5 separate regions of the Homo sapiens genome follow, and regions 2, 3, 4 and 5 are each linked to region 1. Evidence: promoter capture Hi-C in human tissues and cell types (Jung and others, 2019). All regions are on one chromosome and are shown on one strand. Each heading gives the region's core, a stretch centred on a gene start or on the middle of the fragment in contact. The rest is flanking DNA. Distances are from core to core; before and after follow the strand shown.

Region 1 (2,700 bases), core at 74-2,573:
GAACGAACAAACAAAGCACAAAAGAAACAGCCTAGGCAAGGTAGTGAAGCCCTGTTCAGGGTGACGAATATCTGTACAACAGCTATTTCAGAGGCTGAGGCAGGAGGATCAGTTGAGTCTGGGAGGTGGATGCTCCAGTGAGCCGTGATTGCACCACTGCACTCCAGCCTTGGTGACAGAGCCAGACCCTGTCTCAAATAAATAAAAATTAAAATTAAAGGAAAGAAAGCGTGGAAGCAGAAGTGGGTCCCATTGAACTTCAAGCCTTCAAGCTACAGCTGTGGCTGGACAGGTTGAACTAGCAGGCAGGAGCAGTCACCATCTTGGCAGGGATTAATGGCCCTGAACCATCATCAGGAAGAGGGAGTAGTGCTCTTATGCAGGGAGGGCAGGTGGAATATATGTGAACTCTGGTGATCTGTTTGGGTGCCACGTGTTACTCCCAGGTCCACCTGTGACATGAATGGACAAGTGCAGGAACCCTGACTTGAGAAAGATGTGGCCTTGAGGGGTTTAGACTTTTCAGGAATGAGAGTTTGGGTCACGGTAGCCAGGGAAACCACCAGGATTAACAGAGTTGATAGCTGAGAAGGAGGGGGGATTTGGAGGGGAGAGGACAGGAGGCACTGGTTGAGTACCAGGGGCAGCCTTGTGACCAAATGCACCAAGAGGGGCTGTCGTTTGACTCACTAACTTTCTGTAGCTCTATGCAGTACAAAAGAGCAGGAGATGAAAGAATGGCAAGTAGATTGGGAGCCGGAAAATAACTGGAATGAACCCACACATTCCTGATTGACATTGACAGTAATATACAGGTACAGGCAGGCAGAGGCGTTTTCTCTTCAACTGATTTTGAAATCATTCTCTCTGTTAGAGTACACAGCTATCTGAAGGTACACAGTGACCATCAACATTTACCAAGCTTTGGGCAAATGTTAAGTGTCATTGTTGTTGGTTTAATTTGATATTGTTCTCTATTGAATAATGTGCACAACAAATTTCTGGATTTTTATTAAAAGAGCATCTCCTGTGCTACATGCAAATATACAATCTGAGAAATTCTGACCCTGGCTATTAAAGTATAAAAAGGTTTCCTTGTCTCAGAACAATGTTAGAACAGACATCAACTCACTGCTTCTAGAAGAGCAGCCACTCCTTGATTTCACAAACTCAATAAACAGTCTCAGTTGTTGTTTAGTATCATTAGGAACTATTTTGACAGAGGTTTCTAGATCATGTCACAATGACATCAGATATCAAAGAAATGTGTAACAGGTTTGGTTATATGCAATGGCTACCCTCAACCCCCCAAGTTCCTGTCCAGTCAAATTCCCTCTGACCTGCTGTCTGCATCTGCCTCTCCAGAAACAGGGCAGACACAGGATTGTCAAACGTGCTTGCTTCCATGCTCTCTCCCTAATGGTGACATGGACTCTGTTCTCAATAAGCACCTCCCACCCCGCCCAAAGGTCCCTATCACCTCTCCCTGGCTCTGGGTCCACTTCTCTGTACCTTGGACATGGGCATAACATGTTGCCCATGAGGCACAGGATGAGTAGCAGGGGCAGCCCTGTGACCAGCTGCAGCAAGAGGGAGTGCTGTTTGGCTCACGACCCTTATGCAGCTCTATGCAGTACAAAAGAGCAGGGGAGAGAAGAATGGCAAGTGGAAGGGGAGGCAGAAAATAACCAGAACAAATGCACATATATGATCGTGGCCTTGGGTTTTCATTTCCTTGTGAGGGCTCCCGTGTCATGTAAAACTTACATTGACAGCTTTTATGATAGCTTTCCTCCTGCTAATCTATGTCAGTTTGAGTCTCAGGCCCAGCAAGGACCCTAAGGAGATAAAGTTTTGCCTCCCCTACACAGTCATTGCCCACTCCCACCCTCATCTTGAGTTAACCACTGATCTACTTTATGTCTAGAGTTCCCGTTCCTGGCATTTCATATGAAAGGAATTACACAGTATGTGGTCTTTTGTGTCTGACTGATGTCTTTCTCTGAGCATAATGTTTCTGAGGTTCATCCCCATTGTGACATGTGCCATTATGTTGTACCATTATGTTTTTATTCCTGAATATCACATTTTGTTTATCCGTTCACCCACTGATGGACGTTTGAGTAGTTTTCAGTTCAAAGCTATTCGAATAATTCTGCTCTAAACATTTGCCTCTAAGTCTTTATAAGGACATACGTTGTCATTTCTCTCGGCCTGCCTGCTCATTACACATTGGTGTTCCTGTGATTCTGAAACATGTACTCTTCTCTTACACAAAGTAGTATCTCCGTGTCATCTCTCCCAGTCCATGGCTACTGGGGACCACCTGTATACCTCACCCTGATCATAGAAACAGAAGTCCAGTCTCTCTATGTTTTCAAAGGCCTCCAAGATTTTCAACTCTTTCTCTCTTTCTCTTTCTTTTTCTCTTTTTCTTTTTCTTTCTTTTTTTCTTTCTTTCTCTCTCTCCCTCTCTCTCTCTCTCCCTCTCTCTCTCTCTCTCTCTCTCCCTCTCTCTCTCTTTCTTTTTTTTTTCAAGTCTCGCTCTGTGGCCCGTGGTGGAGGGCAGTGGCATGACCATGGCTCACAACCTCGACCTCCCCAGCTCAAGTGACCCTCCACCTCAGCCTCCTGAGTAGCTGGGACTACAGGAGCATGCCACCATGCCTAGTTTCATATGTGCTTGCTTCCATCCTCTGC
Region 2 (2,700 bases), core at 65-2,564, 620 kb before region 1:
TGGGCGGGCAGGGCGGGCACTCACCTGGCATGGGGAGCCGGCTCGGCAGCGCGTAGCACAGACCCGCCGCCAAAAAATGGCACAGCAGCGGCGGCGTTGTGTCGAAGCGCGTCTACCAGCACCTTGCAGCTCTTGGCCAGCTGCGCCTTGGCCTCCCAGAAGGAAAGACAGCCCGAGGGAGCCGTAGGGGCCGGCAGCCCCAGGACCACCAGCGGCTTCATGTCCATGCGCTGCAAGAAGGCCAGGGCAAAGGCCAGACTGGATACGCCCTGCTGGCACTTGAGCACCTCCTCGTCCACCTGCGGAGGAGTGGGCTTTCAAGGAGCGTGACACGGACCTGAGCCGCTGGCTCCCACAGCCTGGCCTGCAGGGCCGTCTCGGTGACCCTACCCTTCCAGAAGCTGTCAGGACCCAGTTCTGGCCACCAGTGCCCACCTGCTCCGCCCTTTGCCCCGTTGGGTCTTGCCACTCCCTTGTCTCACGCTGGGGTACCTCCCGCCCTCCTCCCTCCGACCTTGGACTCCGGGACATCTTTGGGGGAGGGGCAGTGCAAGCGGCTCCTGTCCAGGTCCTTCTGAACCCCTAACTGCGCCCATGTTGGGGGCCTTCTTCAGAGCATCACACCTGGCGGGTGGGGTCCCCCAGGATCCTCACTCGGGCTGGGCGGGAGGCTTCCGGAGGAGCTTACGGCCTCTCCCATTCCCGGCGGCGCTGGTCTGGGCCCTGCCGGGCTCCTTCCCGCTTCCGCTGCGCAGAGCCCGCAGCGTATCCTGCCATGCCTGAGGACAGGTGGCCGCACAACCCCATCCCCTCGCTGCGTCACGGCCCACGCCGGGCTCCGCTCACCTCGATGACGGCGAAGGGCTTGTCCGCGGAGTGATGGCAGGTCTGGAACTGCGTGAGCCAGTGGCGCGCCTCCCCAGGGCTGGCCCCGCACTGGTTCAGGAAGGCCTGGATGTCCCGCTGCACCAGCGAGCGGCCCGAAGGAGGCTCTGGGGACTCGTGGGGCACCGGGGGCCTGGGACTCGGCACCCACGACGGCTCCTCGGCGACGGGCGACTGGGAGACGTCGTCCGCGCCCGCGTACTCCTCGGGCGGGGGCTGGGGCTGCGACCAGGCGGTGCTGAGCCGGCGCCCCGGGCTGGTGCCCCTCGCCGCCCGCCGCCGCGCGCCACAGCTCAGCCTTCGGGCGCCCCCAGTGCCTCCCCGGCCTCTCAGCCTCGGGGCTACAGCAGCTGCCCGCAGAACCACAGCCATCAGCGCCGTCGCCATGACGACAACCAACTCTTGCCCCCCAAGAGTGGCAGTCTGTCTGGAGCGTCTGGCACTGGGGGGCTCTTAACTTGCCGTTGGGCGGGGCTGGACCTGGTCGGGGCGGGGTCCGGACAGGGGACCAGGAGTCTCCTCTGGGTGCGTTTGAGGAGGGTCAGGCCATGAGTCAGGGGGCGGGGCCACTAGGCTCCCCCGCCCCTGGAGGAACTGAACCCACTATCGGTCATGGGGCCGAGACTAAATGTGGCGGGTTGTCTTTAATCTGCTGCCAAGGTAGGTTCCAGGGGCGGCTTTGGGAGTCTGCAGGGCCTTGGATGATTGGCATTCTGACCAGAGAAGAAGGGACTGTAGGTGGCTTTGAGCACAGGGCTGGGCAGGGGGCTGGAAGGAGGGCGCTGGAAAGAGTAGAAGAAGGGGGGCAGTGGGAGGGCGGGGGCGGGTGGTGCTGGCCTTGTCTGTCCTGTTGCCTGAGCTCAAAAAAGATCCTAATGAATGACCATGAGGTTACCAGGGTTTGCCAAACTCCAGTCACTGGGTACCAGCTTGAGGAATTCTGTGATATCCTCAAAACACCCCTCAAAACTTATAATACTTTAGTGTTAATGCTTTTCTTTATCGAATATCACATCTGGTAAAAATAAAATAAAATAGAGTTTTTTATTTTGGTTTTTGAGATAGGGTCTCACTCTGTTGTTGCCCAGGCTGCAGTACAGTGGTGCAATCATAGCTCACTGCAGCCTCCACCTCCCAGGTTCAAATGATCCTCCTGCCTCAGTCTCCCTAGTAGCTGGGACCACAAATGCACACCACCATGCCCAGCTGATTTAAAAAAAAATTATTTTTTTTGAAGACGGGTGTTCACCATGTTGCCCAGACTGTTCGTGAACTCCTGAGCTCAAGCAGTCCTCCCACTTCTGCCTCCCAAGGTGCTGGGATTACAGGTGTGAGCTACTTCACTCGACCTCTGTAACCCTTTTTTTTTTTTTTTTTTTTGTTTGTTTGTTTGTTTGAGATGGAGTCCCACCCTATTGCCCAGGCTGGAGTGCAGTGTTGCGATCTCGGCTCACTGTAATCCCCGCCTTCTGGGTTCAAGCGATTCTCCTGCCTCAGCCTCCTGAGTAGCAGGGATTACAGGCAGACACCATCACACCCGGCTAATCTTTGTATTTTTAGTAGAGACAGGGTTTCACCATGTTGGCCAGGATTGTCTCAAACTCCTGACCTCGTGATCCACCTGCCTCAGCCTCCCAAAGTGCTGGGATTACAGGCGTGAGCCACCACGCCCGGCCCTCTTTAACCTTTTTAAACTTAAAGTTTATCCATGTTAGGTCTGTAACTAGGCCAGTATCACTTGCCATAAGCCTTAAGAATCAAGTGAGGAGGCGGGTGGGTCATTTGAGGTCAGAAGTTCAAGACCAGCCTGGCCAA
Region 3 (2,700 bases), core at 85-2,584, 680 kb before region 1:
CAAAATTTCTATAGTGAGCGGTGGGTGGGTTAGCGACAGCCATTGGTGGTAGTAGGGCTTGAAAATGCACGCTCATAGTCCTTTGCATAAGATTAAGAAAACGACTGTTTTGTACATCAGACGGACATTCAAGGGCAGGGGCGCAAAACCCCTCCTCCAAGCCCCTTTTTGTCACTATCCGCTGCTCCTCATTCCTGCCTTTTGCCTGGCTTTCTGGGAGAGAGGGCAAAAAGGGAGAAGGGGAAGTGTCTTGACTTCTAAGAGTGATGGGTGACTAAGGGGGAACTACCATTTATTAAAGACCTAGTACATGCCATGCACTTATACCCGTTACCGCATTTAAACCTCCTAACTATGAGGTAGGTATTATTATGTAACAGAGTATAGCAGTAAATAGCACCGTCCTTGGAAATAGGCAGACTGTTTTTGCTAGTTGTGGAACCGTGGACAAGTTTAGTCTAAAACTTAGTTTATGTAAAAGGAGGACATTGATTCCTACCTCAAAGGGCTGTTAGATGCTCAAGAAGTGACAATACAAATGCCTATGAAGAAACAGGATCAGGTAATTTGCTTGCTCAAGGTCAGGTGATTTAGTAAGAGGCTGACCTCGGATTCTGGTTCCAGCTTATCTAACTCCACAGCCAATGTTCTTTCCACTATCACTCAGTAGTTATAATCATCTTTTTTTGTTTGTTTGTTTGTTTTGAGACAGAGTCTCGCTCTGTTGCCCAGGCTAGAGTGCAGTGGCACAATCTTGGCTCAGTGCAACCTCCGCCTTCCAGGTTCAAGAGATCCTCCAGCCTCAGTCCCCCTAGTAGCTGGGATTACAGGCACGCGCCACCGTACCCGGCTAATTTTTGTATTTTTAGTAGAGACGGGGTTTCACCATGTTGGCCAGGCTGGTCTCGAACCCCTGACCTCAGGTGATCCACCCGCCTCGGCCTCCCAAAGTGCTGGGATTACAGGCGTGAGCCACCGCTCCCAGCCTTATAATCATCTTGTCCAAGTATCGTTAAGTCCTCTGAGGCTCTGATTCCTCATATGCAAAATGGGGTTAACATATTTTATAAAATTCATTCATTAAACTCTTGTGTGGAAGGTGTGCATATAATGGAGACTGCAGCTCCCTCCTCTTTCCCCTTTTCATTCCACGTAGGTCATTTATCCTTAACTTCTAAAATGGACTCTACAAGCACTTAACCGAGCGGACGCAGCTATACAAATACTTTTCAGATTCCCCTTTATTTCCTCTTCTTTCCCACTCCACCTAGGATCCCGCCCCAACCAGCGCCAGGCCACGCCCCGGCGTGTGACGCAAGCACGCTCCGTGCGCGCCGTCGCGTCGCGGCGCTCACTGGGGGCCCGGCTTTCGCCCGCTGCTGCCGCCGCCGCCGCCGGCCGCGGCTGCACTCCCAAGATGGCGGCTCCTCCGGGCGAGTACTTCAGCGTTGGGAGCCAGGTGTCGTGCCGGACGTGCCAGGAGCAGCGGCTGCAGGGCGAGGTGGTAGCCTTTGACTACCAATCCAAAATGCTGGCTTTAAGTATCCTTCCCTGCGTGAAGCCCGAGTCCGGGCCGGCGTGTAGGTGCGGTGGTCGGGGGGTGGGGGACGACGGCGGCGGCTGGGGCTCTCTCCGGGCCTAGGGGCGACCGGCTACCGCGGCGCCCGGGGCGCATGCGCACGGCCCTGAGCTCCCCTCCCCCTCCCGCGGGCCCTTCGGTCAGCTTTGGGGATCCTGTCTCTCTCTCTTTGCGGGAGCTGGGGCTTTACCGAGGATCAGTGGGTGGAGGAGGGCTTGACACGGGGATGGCTTTTTGGGGGGAACGTTATGAGAGGGGACACAGTAATTAGGAGAGGGGGTGGTGGTGGGAGGGGGCTGATGGATTGGAGCCCGGATGGAAAGGAGGGGCGGGTGAAATATTATGGGGAGGGGTGTTTAGGGTAAGGAACTGCTGGTAGGGCAAAGGTATGGAATTTAGGAGGGCATGTGCACTGATGGGATTTCGTCCAAGGAAGGGCGGTGGGATGGTGACCAAATTGGTCCTTGCCTGTTTTGGGGGAGAGTAAGTTCAGGGCAGAGTTTGTATCTGAGCTAGGGATAGTGGCTTGTTTCGCTGATGCGTGTGTATGTGTGGTGGGGGGGCTGTGCTGATTTTTAGGCTTCTCGGTCATTTGGAAGTTGCTGTTTAGGGGATGTTTGCACTGGAAACCTGTTCCAGAGAGGGCTTGCCAGGGGCTTATGTGGTTTGGGGATGTGTGAGTTACAGGTGAAAGAGTGAAGTTCTCATGCTGCCTTGATCAGTCCAGCACATGGAGTCCTTTTACGTAGTAGCAGCCTCCCTTTTGAAAGTAGCAATGTTAAACTGATTGGAAAAGGTGGCCTGCTTCTTTGGGGTGGAAGTGACTTCTGAATTACTCCAGGAAACTCAGTCTTGGAAATGAAACACTTCCTTGTTGGGATAAATGTGCCACGGCTTCCCTTTTTATGTGAGCCACAGGTGGGTTTATTGGAATTTTTTTTTGGAGGAGTAATTTTTTATGGCATCTTTTTTTTTTTTTTTTTTTTAAGATGGAGTCTCGCTCTGTCGCTAGGATGGAGTGCGGTGGCGCAATCTCGGCTCACTGCAACCTCCGACTCCCTGGTTCGAGCGATTCTCCTGCCTCAGCCTCCGGAGTAGCTGGGATTACGGGCACGCGCCAC
Region 4 (2,700 bases), core at 167-2,666, 960 kb before region 1:
TGGGGTCCTGGAACCAGTTCCGTGAAGATACCAAGGGACACCTATAACACGTCACACATCAGGTCATGGTGACGTCAGGCTTTGATGGCCCCAGAGCGTATTGGACCTGGGTTCATATCACTAGTGGCACGATGGGCAGTGCCTGGGAATGGTGCAACAGGTACAACAGAAACAGGGTACAGGGACTGCCTGAAAATCGCACTTGGGTCCTAATCCTAGAATTGCCAACTGTGAGGGCCTGAGAAGTTGCTCTCTGTCTGTGCCTCAGTTACCCCACGAGTCTAGGTGTGGATACCACTGCGGGGGGAGGGGCAGGAAATCTCACCCACCCAGTCACTCACATCCTCTCTGCTCCACCTGGCTTTCCTCAAGTGCCCCTCCCCTAACTCAGCATCCCCAAGAGGCCACCTCCTGGACAGATAAGGATGAAGTTCACTGGTCCTGGACAGTGGACCCTCTCCTCAGCCCCACAGCTCCCAGGCAAAGCACCTGCAGCTGGCACCGCCTGCTTCCTGGGTGTTCTCAGCAGGCTGTCCGCTGCCATGGCTTGCTGGGAAGGGGAGTCTGTCTGCACAGGAGTGTTCGGCTCCCTGGTGAATTACCTGTGCATGTGGCCCCTCCTGTTTACCCTAAATTGAGGGAGTATAGTGTATGCTTCTACTGAATACAAGCACTCGCATACAGAAACAGGGATGAGGAGGCGAGTCGCAGTCTCTCATGCCACCCTACACCGCCAAAACAGCCAGAGGGGACAGCAGCCTCTTCAAGACCCTAGCTCCGTTATCTTCCACTAGGTGGCACCCCCCAACTCCGAGTGCCAAGGGGAGAGGAAATTCCCAAAAGGGGAGCCAACCTAGCTGCAAATGAGCAGGAAAAAGTGGCTGGGAGAGGCGGAAGCTAGCTCGTCCCACCCGCAACAAGAGGAAGTAAGGAGGAGCCAGACCAGGTTCAGTCACCACTCCCAAGTCCCTACTACCTTCGAGAAGCCAAGGTCTCAGGTCTCGTTCCCAGGCCCTCGGAGCTCCCAGCCCAGGGTCGCGCGCCCCTCCGGCTCCAGGCCGCCGCGGGAACCACCCACCACCACCAGGAGAGGGGAAGAAGCCAGCACCTACCGACAGGGGTGGAGCTGGGTCAAGAATGGTGTGGTCCCTGCTTTGGGGGAATGCTGGGGAGGTAGAAAGCCCCTTCTAACGGGGCGTCACTGCAATTACTGCTTCCTCTTTCCCATAAAACTCCCCCTAGTGTATCAGAACCCCCAAGGAGTTTCAGTAAGCGGTTCTTCTGTTGTCTCCGGCTGAGACTCCAGGGGAACCTCAAGCTCACATGGCCCTGGCGGGCCCCTGGGCAGGAGCAGGCGAGAGGTCTGCGCGGCCGCTCTCCTACCTGCGTCCGACTCCGCGGTCCTTGGGCAGCAGCAACCGGGTAGCGCTCAGACTACAGACCCCAGCGCGATGACCCGCCTACCTCAGTTTCCATTGGCCAGGGATCAGGGCTACCCGCTCCCATTGGCTACTTATCAATATAGAGGTGGGGCCAGCCTGGAATGCTGTGTTTCTTTTCTACTCAAATCACTCTCCTCCCTGCTTCCTCTCGCCCCACACCCCATTTCTAGGGATCATGTGATTGGAGAATCATGTGACGTCGGGACAGCCTCAGCAGGGCAGCTGGTGCTCGTCGCCTTCCTTAACCCATCCTGCAGGCGCCTGGGGGAGTTTGCTAGAGATGATAGCGCGTGTCTGGGGCATTGACAGTGCGAGGGAGTGTTATGAATTGGGAATATTTGTGCTCGCCTTTCTATCCTTTTGTTTGTTTGTTCTGAGACGGAGTCTCACTCTGTCGCCAGGCTGGAGTGCAGTGGCACGATCTCGGCTCACTGCAACCTCTGCCTCCCGGGTTCAAGCGATTCTCCTGCCTCAGCCTCCCGAGTAGCTGGGACTACAGGCGCGCACCACCACGCCCAGCTAATTTTTGTATTTTTAGTAGAGACGGGGTTTCACCATGTTGGCCAGGATGGTCTCGATTTCTTGACCTCGTGATCCGCCCACCTCGGCCTCCCAAAGTGCTAAGATTACAGGCATGAGCCACCGCGCCCGGACTTGTGTGTTTGTTTTAGAGACAGGGTCTCGCTCAGTCGCCCAAGCTGATCATAGCTCACTGCGGCCTGCAACTCCTGCTCCCAAAGCGATTCTCCTACCGCAGCCCCCCAAGGCGCTGGGATTACAAATGTGAGCTACTGAGCTGGCTCGCTCCTATCCTATCCTGCCCTGTCTTGTCCTGTCCTGTCCTGCCCTATTCTGCCCTATTCTCCAAACTCGGTTGACATGCTAGGCAGGCCCCAGAGTGAGTTGAAGGATGGTTTCCAGGACAAAGATAAACAGCCCCAAAGCCCTTTCCTCAAGGTGCTCAGCAGGACAGGGAGCAGGGATTGGTGGGAGACAGTCTCAGGCTGAATCTAATTTAAGATACAAGGTTGTGCGCCAGTTGCCAGGTGTAGGGAGAGGAAGTAGATTGTCTCCAGGTGGGGAAGAAGAGATTTCATTCCACCTTAGGAGCATCTCCTTGAGCTGAGTCTGGGAAGATTTTAACTGGCAGGTGGAGGAGGAGGTGTTGGGAAGAGCCCTGGGAAACCAGATGGGAAGGGCAGGCTTGGCAGGGATTGAATGCCATGTTCAATGCCAGTGGGCTTCAGGAGCTGCTGGG
Region 5 (2,700 bases), core at 55-2,554, 520 kb before region 1:
TTGGAACTCAGGGGAGAGCTGAGTCTTGGAACCCAGGGACCAGTCCCCTGCTTTCGGGATAGATTCCCATTTCTGAGATTTCCAAGCAAGTTTCCAGAATGTAATCCATTTCTTTTCTTTTTGTTTCTTTTGAGACAGGGTCTCACTCTGTTGCCCAGGCTGGAGTGCGGTGTTGCAATCTCGGCTCACTGCAGCCTCAGCTTCCCAAGTAGCTGGGACTACAGGCGCGCGCTACCACGCCCAGCTAATTTTGTTTATTTTATTTTTTGTAGCGATGGGGTTTCACTATGTTGCTTGGGCTAGTCTCGAACTCCTAGGCTCAACCGATGCTCCCGCCTCCGACTCCCAAAGTGTTGGGATTATGGGAGTGAGCCACCGCGCCCGGCCAAAGATGCAGTCCATTTATGATCTTAGGAATCCAGTTAGCAAGGAAAAGGGATGACTCTCACATTTTGTTCAGGGCAACTGGACGGGGTGGCTGAACGCCGAGGTCGGAGAAGTAGCGTAGCTGGCCCCAAATGCTAGTCGCACTGCACAGAGCCTCCCGTATTTGGAGGCCCAGCATCTTTTACTAGCAGATGTGGGGTGGAGCCGGAGGCTGGGCGAAGGCGGGCCAGTGGGTTTAACCCTTTATTTACTTTTTGGGCTGGGACTCTGAGGAAGGCTAGCCAGTTACTTCTTTATTCCATAGGCAGGAAAATGGACCAGGCCTCCCTCACCTAGACCTAAAAGAGGCTCTCGAATCCTTTCAGGAAGACATTTCCTCTTTTTTGCAAAATTTCTGGAAAGTCTGGAATCCGGATATCCACCCTCTGAGTCCTTAAAAAGCTGCCCCTGATCCCGAGGCCTTCTGGGGCTGGTATCCTGCTTCCTGGGAGTCTCTCTGAAGTCCTCCTATTCTTTTTCTCAATATGGAAGCAGGATAACGAGGAAAAGTGAGGCACGCCTGGAACTAGAACGCCGGTCTAAGCCAAGATGGGTGGGCGGAGTAATCAAGCCGGTCTCATTAGGCACTTTTACCATCGCCCCTTTAAGGGATCCTTGGGAGCCGAGGGGCACCAGCGGGTACTGGTACCAGTCCTGCCTCCCTAACCCTTCCCAGTGGGACTCCAGCAGGGCGTCGTGGTCTGTGCGGTGTCTCCCAAACCACTACCTGGCTGCCCCCGTACCAGCTGCTGGGAAAGACTACTTCCTCCGAGTTGTGCCGGCCTCCGCGTTCTCCTCACCTCCCCTCTCCTCCGGACCTCCGCCCCCTCGCGGAGAGGCCTTGCCGCTTTAAGAGCCGGGCTAGCGATTGACAAGCAATAAACGCTGAGCGCCCGGCTGCGCTGGAGCCGCCCGGAGCTAGGGGCTTCCCGGGGCGCAGGTAGGCGTCCCCCGGCCCCCGGGCCAGCTCCTATCCCAAGACCTCCGCCTTCTTTTCGTCCTGACACGGCACTTAGGACCCTATTCACTGGGTTTAAACTCCACAGGCCCCTTTCACCCAGGCCCGTTCCCTCCCTGTCCACCCGCCCCCGCCCCTGGGCCCTCTTTCTGGGGTGCTGGTTGGGAGAACCAAGCCCCGCTGCCCATTGACACTGGTCCCCGCCCCTGCGGTAGGGGCTCCAAAGTGGCTTCAGGCACCAAGGTGGTGAGCTGTGAGGGGCCCCGGTATCTGCGCGGCCTCCCCGGGGGCTGTGCGGGTTGGGGGTACTTAGAAGCCCGGCATTACGTAAGAACCGTGCTGTTAGCGCTTCCGGGGGTTGGGGAGCGAGACAGAGGTTGCGCTGGGTCCCGGTGGCCCCCTGGTCCCCCTAGGCAGCTAACACCACAATCTTCCCTGGGAGGGGGTCCGCAGAAGGGCGCGCGCTGCTTCTCCCGCTTCCCAAGCTGTAGCGGGGCGGGTCGGGAGCCAGGGTTAGGGTCTGGAGACTTGGGAGGGGACCGGTGCCAGAAGCGAAGAGCTAGGGTTAGAAAGTTAGGTCAATTAAGGGGGGGGCGGTGCGGATAAAGACGGGGTGGGGGTTGGCCGGGGCAGTCATTTAGTGACCTCATCCCTGGTCTCCGGCGGGCGCGCACGTAGAGAGCCTTCTTTGATGGCTCACAACACGCCCCCCTCCCCCAGGTCCTAGCGCCCAGGGTGTTAGGGCTGGGTCCGTTGGGGCAGGGGTGATCTGATGGTCCAAGCATGCACGTCCGCCTGGCCTTTCGACCCCATCCTCTGGCCCTCAGTTCTGTCCAGACCTCCCCGCGACCTCTCGCTCTCCAAAGCGCCTTTGTCAGACCTTTCTTCTCCGCACCTCTTTGTATGTGTATGGATGGAGGGATGGGTGGGAGGTTGGAAGAAACCTCTCCCTTTCACTGCTGGTCCGCTCGCCTGCGGACACTATGGGTGATGTGGATATCTCGGAGGCAGAGCTGAGAGGGCATCTGGGCCCAGGCTTTTGGAAGCCGAGGTGCAGGTTCCCAGATGTCTGGGTGCAGGACCTTGGCACGGAGCCAGGCTAGCTTGCCTGGCACTGCCGTTCTCCTGTGGACACAGCCAGGCCCCGCCCTCTCAGAGGCTTGGACGGGCGTGGGGGAGCAAAGCCAGCCGATGCTCTGGGAACCGATTCCCCGGGAGAAAACCCAGGCAGGCTGGGCAAGACTTCCGAGCGCAGGGATTTCATACAGGATCCTCCCTGCCTTTTCCCGCCCTCCACGCTCTAGGGAAGGAGGACT

The links. The method cuts DNA at HindIII sites, captures the fragments that hold promoters and counts their contacts. A contact is called where the count stands out against the background at its distance.
Region 2: a contact is called between the fragment with the promoter of NAGS here and a fragment that was not itself captured in region 1, in 4 of the 25 tissues and cell types used here (dorsolateral prefrontal cortex, hippocampus, spleen and 1 more).
Region 3: a contact is called between the fragment with the promoter of LSM12 here and a fragment that was not itself captured in region 1, in 4 of the 25 tissues and cell types used here (bladder, dorsolateral prefrontal cortex, hippocampus and 1 more).
Region 4: a contact is called between the fragment with the promoter of GRN here and a fragment that was not itself captured in region 1, in 2 of the 25 tissues and cell types used here (dorsolateral prefrontal cortex and hippocampus).
Region 5: the fragment with the promoter of MPP2 here is called in contact with a fragment that was not itself captured in region 1 in 2 of the 25 tissues and cell types used here (hippocampus and spleen).

The regions. Positions count from the first base shown.
Region 1 is chr17:43,383,366-43,386,065 of GRCh38, reverse strand. All of the region lies in intron 1 of LINC00910 (long intergenic non-protein coding RNA 910), which reads left to right. Among named protein-coding and RNA genes, the nearest start is that of LINC00910, 4.2 kb to the left of the region's middle. The HindIII fragment of the contact is 7,633 bases long and covers 1-2,700 here.
Region 2 is chr17:44,003,236-44,005,935 of GRCh38, reverse strand. It overlaps NAGS (N-acetylglutamate synthase), which reads right to left and starts at 1,314. Exons shown (of 7, transcript NM_153006.3): 1 at 847-1,314; 2 at 25-299. The coding sequence starts at 1,272. It also overlaps a transcript of PYY not described here. RefSeq lists an enhancer at 1-391. The HindIII fragment of the contact is 21,260 bases long and covers 1-2,700 here.
Region 3 is chr17:44,065,305-44,068,004 of GRCh38, reverse strand. LSM12 (LSM12 homolog) reads left to right here and starts at 1,334. Exons shown (of 5, transcript NM_001371445.1): 1 at 1,334-1,541. The coding sequence starts at 1,418. RefSeq lists silencers at 1,252-1,371, 1,662-1,801. The HindIII fragment of the contact is 14,418 bases long and covers 1-2,700 here.
Region 4 is chr17:44,344,018-44,346,717 of GRCh38, reverse strand. It overlaps GRN (granulin precursor), which reads right to left and starts at 1,416. Exons shown (of 13, transcript NM_002087.4): 1 at 1,384-1,416. RefSeq lists enhancers at 1,144-1,293, 2,445-2,700. The HindIII fragment of the contact is 17,447 bases long and covers 1-2,700 here.
Region 5 is chr17:43,906,140-43,908,839 of GRCh38, reverse strand. It overlaps MPP2 (MAGUK p55 scaffold protein 2), which reads left to right and starts at 1,304. Exons shown (of 13, transcript NM_005374.5): 1 at 1,304-1,366. RefSeq lists an enhancer at 1,145-1,294. The HindIII fragment of the contact is 11,562 bases long and covers 1-2,700 here.